Linked DNA regions of Homo sapiens: region 2 is linked to region 1. The links are contacts of gene promoters, found by promoter capture Hi-C in blood cells and fetal thymus (Javierre and others, 2016). All regions are on one chromosome and are shown on one strand. The core of a region is centred on a gene start or on the middle of the fragment in contact, and the rest is flanking DNA. Distances in the headings are between cores, read along the strand shown.

What was found. Contacts are between HindIII fragments. The CHiCAGO score rates a contact against its expected background, and 5 or more counts as called.
Region 2: a contact is called between the fragment with the promoter of CIDEC here and the fragment with the promoter of TTLL3 in region 1, in 9 of 17 cell types (erythroblasts, naive B cells, naive CD4 T cells and 6 more). The highest score is 9.3, in erythroblasts.

What each region holds. Positions count from the first base shown.
Region 1 is chr3:9,808,551-9,811,697 of GRCh38, forward strand. It overlaps TTLL3 (tubulin tyrosine ligase like 3), which reads left to right and starts at 1,712. Exons shown (of 14, transcript NM_001387446.1): 1 at 1,712-1,844; 2 at 2,071-2,159. The coding sequence starts at 2,112. All of the region lies in intron 4 of ARPC4-TTLL3 (ARPC4-TTLL3 readthrough), which reads left to right. RefSeq lists an enhancer at 784-933 and a silencer at 1,414-1,893. The HindIII fragment of the contact is 3,571 bases long and covers 1-3,070 here.
Region 2 is chr3:9,878,574-9,881,720 of GRCh38, forward strand. CIDEC (cell death inducing DFFA like effector c) reads right to left here and starts at 1,680. Exons shown (of 7, transcript NM_001321142.2): 1 at 1,651-1,680; 2 at 369-481. The HindIII fragment of the contact is 5,760 bases long and covers 1-1,837 here.

The DNA.
Region 1 (3,147 bases), core at 462-2,961:
TGTTCTAGCTTTGCAGTGAATGTTAAAGGTGCTCACAGTGAAACTGGGTGACTAATAGGATATAGCAGCTGGTCACTCAACAACCCTCACAGGACAGCATTGCCTGGGTGAGCCAGCCACAAACCTCATTTGTCATGTATCTCTCTCCCAGGGTCCAAATTCCCTAAATCACCTTTCCTGGGGGGCATGCTTTTCGGGAAGTCCAGCCATCAGCTAAAGGGGAGTTGGGGTCAGCTGGACAGGAAGGTGGGGGATCCACCTTCACTCTTAAGAGCACATCTACCCAGTGACTGACAAAGCTGGGCTCTTACCAGGACACTCTTCGACTCTGCCTGCGGGGGCACTGCTAGAGTTTGCCTCTCAAACTGTCCCTGTGTGGTCCTTCTGTGACTGGCAGGCAACCTGAGTGATAACAGGTGTTTAAGAGACAGGCTTTGGAGTCAGACCTGGGTTCCAGTGCTGCCTCTGCTCTGTGATTTGAGGCAAATTGTTTAACATCTTGGAGCCTTACCTCCCCTGTGACTTTTGAGGATAATATTTTGCCAGTGCTTCCAAAAAGGTTGCTTACAGTCTTAGCCTGGGGGCCAGGCATAACTGTTGTGAACTATTACATTTCTTTCGCAGTTGACTCAAATGATTGTTTTTCCATTTCCAGTTTCTGGGGAGGGTGTGCTCTGCACCTTCTTGTTACCCCCATATGCTGCCCTCGCTAAGGACCTTACCCTAGGCCCATCTGCCAGGCCCAGCAGGTCTGATCTGGCCTCACCAGGCTCCAGCCACCCTGGCTGTCTTGTAGTTCGCACAGAGGTTCTTACCCTTCTCAGGGCTGTTGCTGGGACTGTCCCTTCCCTGAAGTGCAGTTCCTCCCCTTTCCCTGGTGACTCCTGACTCCTGGCATTTACACCTTCAGCTTAAATGCGCCACTTTATCTAAAATGCGCCCCCTTCCTGGTTTCACCTCTGCTTGTTCATTGCCCTTATTATACCTGTAAACTATTCTCTTCCTTTGTTACTTGCTTTTTATTCCCCTCACACTGGGCTTTTAGTAAGCTCCATGAGGTCAGGGGCCATTTGTTAGCGCCTATAAATACTGTGGAATCACTCAAACCCTAGGGCCGGTGGCACCAGGAAGTACTGGATAAGGAACCGCAACACTAACTAACTGGGGCTCAGTGCTCTCTTCCGCCTTCAGTGCCCTGCTCATCAAGGGTCTGGGTGAGGCCCCAGGTCATAAGGAAGCCCTCGCTCGACTGCCCCGGGGCCCATCGCAGCCCCCAACCAGCCCCGAGCGGTCTGATGGTGCCCAGGGAATGGTTTCCAAGGCAATAGCAAACGGGGCGGGGCTTGGAACGGAGGACAAGGCTCGAGCCTAGGCAGGAACTTCCCGGGAGAGGAGGCGGCGACGCGGAGGGGCGCGGGATCAGGGGCCCTGGGAGGGCGAGCGCGGCGAGGGGCGCATGCAGGGCCCCGACGCGCCACTGCTCCTGAGCGCGAGGGAGCTGGGGCCCGGGCGCCGGGGCTCGGCCTCCTGGTACCGCCAGGAGGGCGGCGCGGTGTGCAACTGGCTGCGGAAGCCGCAGCCGCTCGAGCCACGCACCAGTTTCCCCTCGGCGCGCCGCTCCGAGTTCCGTCCACCCAGGAGGCTGCCATGGGCCGGCCCTGCCTCCGCCCAGTCCGAGGAGGGTCACGCAGGCGGCAGATGCCAGGCGGGCAGCCCCGCCCCTGCGCGCCGCCTCAGCGGCGCCTTCAAGACGCTGGTCCCAGGCACCCACGCCCAGGGCGCCTCGGATACCCACCCCCTCGGCCCCCCGCACACCCCGGTCCTCGACCCCTCTCCGCAGGATGGTGAGGCCCGTGCGGCCCGCTCGCTCTGGCCTACAGCGGCTGCGAGGACGACAAGACGCTGGGGTGGAGGGACTGGGGGTCGGGAGAAGAGCGGCTGAGGGTGGGCATCTGGATGAAGGCAGGAGGAAGAAAAGAGGCGTGGCTATGGGCGGCCAGAAAAGATCCTAGGCCGAGACCCTAGGCCCAGCCTCAGTGTACCCCGCCCCTATTCCGCATCTTTCTGCAGGTTTCCCGGTCCTCTGGCGAGGATCCTCCAAGGCGTCTCACATGAACCGGCTCAGAAACGCCAAAATCTACGTGGAGAGAGCTGTCAAGGTCAGAGGAGGGGCAGGGGCGCTTAGAAAGGGCCCTGGGAGCGGCTCAGCCTGTCTCCCTGCGCTGTTTTCTTATATCCTTAAAAAACAAAAGCAAAAGAAAAAACAATAGCAAAAATCCTCAACCACCACACCCATCTTCAACTACCTCCCCGTTTACCCCTTCAGCACCAAACTTCTGGGCTCCCTCCACTCTGGTTCCCTGCGATGTCCCACTCTAATCAAGGTGCCTGGTGAGTTCCAGGGAGCCAAACCCAGCAGTGCCTTTCGGTCTTGATCTCGGTTGGGCACCCTGTATCTTTCGACACCGCTGCCCCACACACCCTTCCTCTTGGCTGTCTGACTGCACGCTCCTAGTTTTCCTTTCTCCCTCTTTGGCTGCTGCTTTTCAGCGGCCTTTAAAGGTTCCTCAGCCATTAGTGGCCCCCTGGCCCCTTCCCCAGGTCTGTCTCCTTTGGCTGTGTCCTTGGCTGAGTCCAGTCAGTGTGCTGCACCCTCTCCGTGCCCCTTCCAGCCCAGCCTCGAACTCCACATCCCGTAGATCTAGCCCCTACCTGTCATCTACACCCAGAAAACTTAACAAGCATTTCAAATTCATGTCCCAAACCAGACTTTGATCTTCCTGCCCAAACCTGTCGTCCTCCCCAGTCTCCAGTCTTTCCCATCTCTCAGTTCCTCACGCCAGAAATCTCATCTTTCTGTTTCTTCACCCACAGGTCTAATTCCATCAGCAAAACCACTTGTCATCTCCACCTCCAAAACGATTCTCAACTCTAGCACCTTCTCCCGTCTGTGTTGTAACCACCTTCATTTTAGTAATTGTGATTTCTCTCCTAGGCAAACTATGACAGCCTCCTAGCTGGTCTACCTCCATCCTGTCCCCTCATCTTTTTGTAATACAGCAGCAAGCCAAGCTTAGAAAGATTCCCTCAGTTAGCCTTTTTTGCTCATGACACTCTTAGTATGAAATCCAAGTCCGTTCCAAGGCC
Region 2 (3,147 bases), core at 430-2,929, 70 kb after region 1:
TTAGGCAAGGTGCAACCCAACCCCTGTTCAGCAACCTTCCTCCCTATTCTTCTATCCCAACTCACACATACCTCCCCCAGCCCTTCTCCTGTCCGGCCCCATGCATGCCAACCAAGACCAAGCTGGAGACCCCACCCCTCTCCCCACCGGGTGCTCAGGCTCAGCCTCACTCAGCAGCTGCTGCTCCTGCCCCAGTCCCACTCACTCCATGTTTCTCATCCCCTGGCTCTGGTCACACTGAGCAGATAACCCAACTCAGGGCTGAAGAAGCCTTGCCCGATTTGTTCCTGTCCATGGGGACAGAGTCCACTTTACGCTGGCAGGAGGTGAGTCACACCACCTCACACTTCTGGGGACCGTTCCCTCACCTCTAGTCCAGAGACCTCACAGGCAGGCAGCCCAGTCAAAGCCTCCTCTCTCCCATGGGTCCTTGAGCAATCCGAGCCCCTTCCTGAGGCTTCACAGTGGCCAAAAGAACATTCTGTGATGATAGAGGCATGCCTTGTACATACTCTCCAATACCATTGCTACTAGCCCCATGTGGCTATTGAGTATTTGAAACATAACTAGTGTGATTCAGGAGCTGAATTTTTTTTTTTTTTGAGTTTCGCTCTTGTCACCCAGGCTGGAGTGCAATGGGGCGATCTTGCTCACTACAACCTCCGCCTCCTGGGTTCAAGCAATTATCCTGCCTCAGCCTCCCCCGTAGCTGGGATTACAGGCACCTGCCACCACGCCCAGCTAATTTTTAGTTTAGTTTCGTTTTGTTTGGATTTTTAGTAGAGACTGGGTTTCACCATGTTGGCTAGGCTGGTCTTGAACTCCTGACCTCAGGTGATCTCCCTGTCTTGGCCTCCCAAAGTGCGGGGATTACAGGCGTGAGCCACTGCACCTGGCACAGGAGCTGTATTTTTTACTTTATTGAATTTTAACTAATTTAAATTTAAATAGCCACATTGCCATGTGGCTGTTGGCACCCATATTAGATCACAGGTCTAAGCAGATAGCCCTGGGCTCATCTGTCACCACTTTTTCTCCTAAACCTCTGTGCTCCAACTCTTGAAGGGCCCAACCCTTTGCACAGATAGTTCCCTCCACCTGTAGTGCCCTTCTCTGATCCAGGACGAAATTTTTGCAGCCTTGAAGCCTCAGTTTCATTGCTTTCCACTCTTTAAAAGGAAAGTCTTCTTAGACCACTCCCAAAATTATTACACCTTCATCCTGCTCTTCCTAGCCAAGGGTGCCTCTGGGTCTGTTTCTGCTGTAGCCCCTCAGTCCCTGGATGCCTGGCCCTGAGGTCCTCTTCCTATTCGAAGCTCCCGGCACAGGTAGGGCTTCGCAGAGCAAGGGGCACAAGGGGTGGACATAAAACAAAAGTCCCCTTGCCAGCTGGGGACAATCACTCTTTGCTTTTAACAATTTGGGGGACTTTCCAGACCAGGCCCCACAGAGGCAGAAAGCCCCTTTCCCACTTAGCACTGCAGAAGCTCTAGTCCTAGCTACGTGGGAGGCTGAGGCAGGAGGATTCTGCTTGCCTCAGCCTCACCCACTTCGTATCCCTAGCAAAACTCTGCCAAGAGCTACCTAACCTGCTCTCCAGGAGCAAAGAAAAAAAAATCCCCAAACCCAAAACAATAACAAACTCCTTACCTCCCCCTCACAGCCTCCTGGAAATACTGCCCTGTCCCGCCCAGCCCTCCCTTCATTTATTTCCAGCCCCCATGAAGCTCCTCCCCAGCCTTCAGCCCCAGCTGGGGAAAAGAGCTTGGGGTGAGAGCTGCAAGCCAGCCTGACTTCCAGAAAAGGCCTAAAAGGAGGGGAGAAGGCATGTTTCGAAAGCTTTGGCAAAATGGATGGCCCATGACATGAGATCAAGCACAGAGGGCACAGAAAGCAGGCAGATGTGGGTTGTGGTCCCAACTCCACCCCATATCAGCTTGCTTGAGCTTAGACAGATCACTTGACTTCTGTGAGCCCGTTTCTCTTCTCTGTGTAATGACGATAATGATTCTTGTTTTATAGGGTAGTGGTGAGGATTAGTGACAATAAAAGTAAAGGGGCACAGTGGCTCATGCCTATAATCCCAGTGTTTTGGGAGGCTGAGGCGGGAGGATTGCTTGAGGACAGGGGTTGGAGGACAGCCTGGGCAATAGAGTGAGACCCTGTCTCTGAAAAAAAAAAAAAAAAAGAAAAGAAAAGAAAAAAGAAAAAAGTAGCCTGGGTGCCGTGGCTCACGCCTGTAATCCCAGCACTTTGGGAGGCCGAGGCAGGTGGATCACTTGAGGTCAGGAGTTTGAGACCAGCATGGCCAACATGGTGAAGCCCCGTCTCTACTAAAAATAGAAAAATGAGCCAGGCGTGGTGGTGTGTGCCTGTAATCCCAGCTATCTGGGAGGCTGAGGCAGGAGAATCGCTTGAGCCTGGGAGGCAGAGGTTGCGGTGAGCTTAGATCACACCACTGCACTCCATTCTGGGTGACAGAGTGAGACCCTGTCTCAAAAAAAAAAAAAAAAAAAAAAAAGTCCGGGCACGGTGGCTCACACCTCTAATCCCAGAACTTTGGGAGGCCGAGGTGGGCAGATCACAAGGTCAAGAGTTCGAGACCAGCTTGGTCAATATGGCGAAAACCCCATCTCTACTAAATATACAAAAATTAGCCGTGCGTGGTGGTGGGTGCCTGAAATCCCAGCTACTCAGGAGGCTGAGGCAGGAGAATCATTTGAACCCGGGAGGCAGAGGTTGCAGTGAGCCGAGATCACGCCACTGCACTCCAGCCTGGGTGACAGAGTGAGACTCTGTCTCAAAAAAATAAAAATAAATAAAAATAAAGGCTTTGCAAACATAAACACTCAATGGATCGAAGTGATTATTAGTATTACTGATAATTTTTTATTTTTATTTTATTATTTTTAATTTTTTTGTCTTTTTCTCAATTTGATAATGTACATATTAAATCATAGCAGAGAGTAAGACAAGCTGAAATGTGGAGTGGTTAAGAGTGTAAGATCTCTGACCCAGCAGTTCCACTTCTGTGTGTGTGCGTGTGGTGTATGTGTGTCATACAGAGCACACCTGTTGTCCCAGCTGCTCAGAAGGAGGCTGATGCAGGAGGATCACTTGAGCCCAGGAATTAAAATTTAGCCTGAG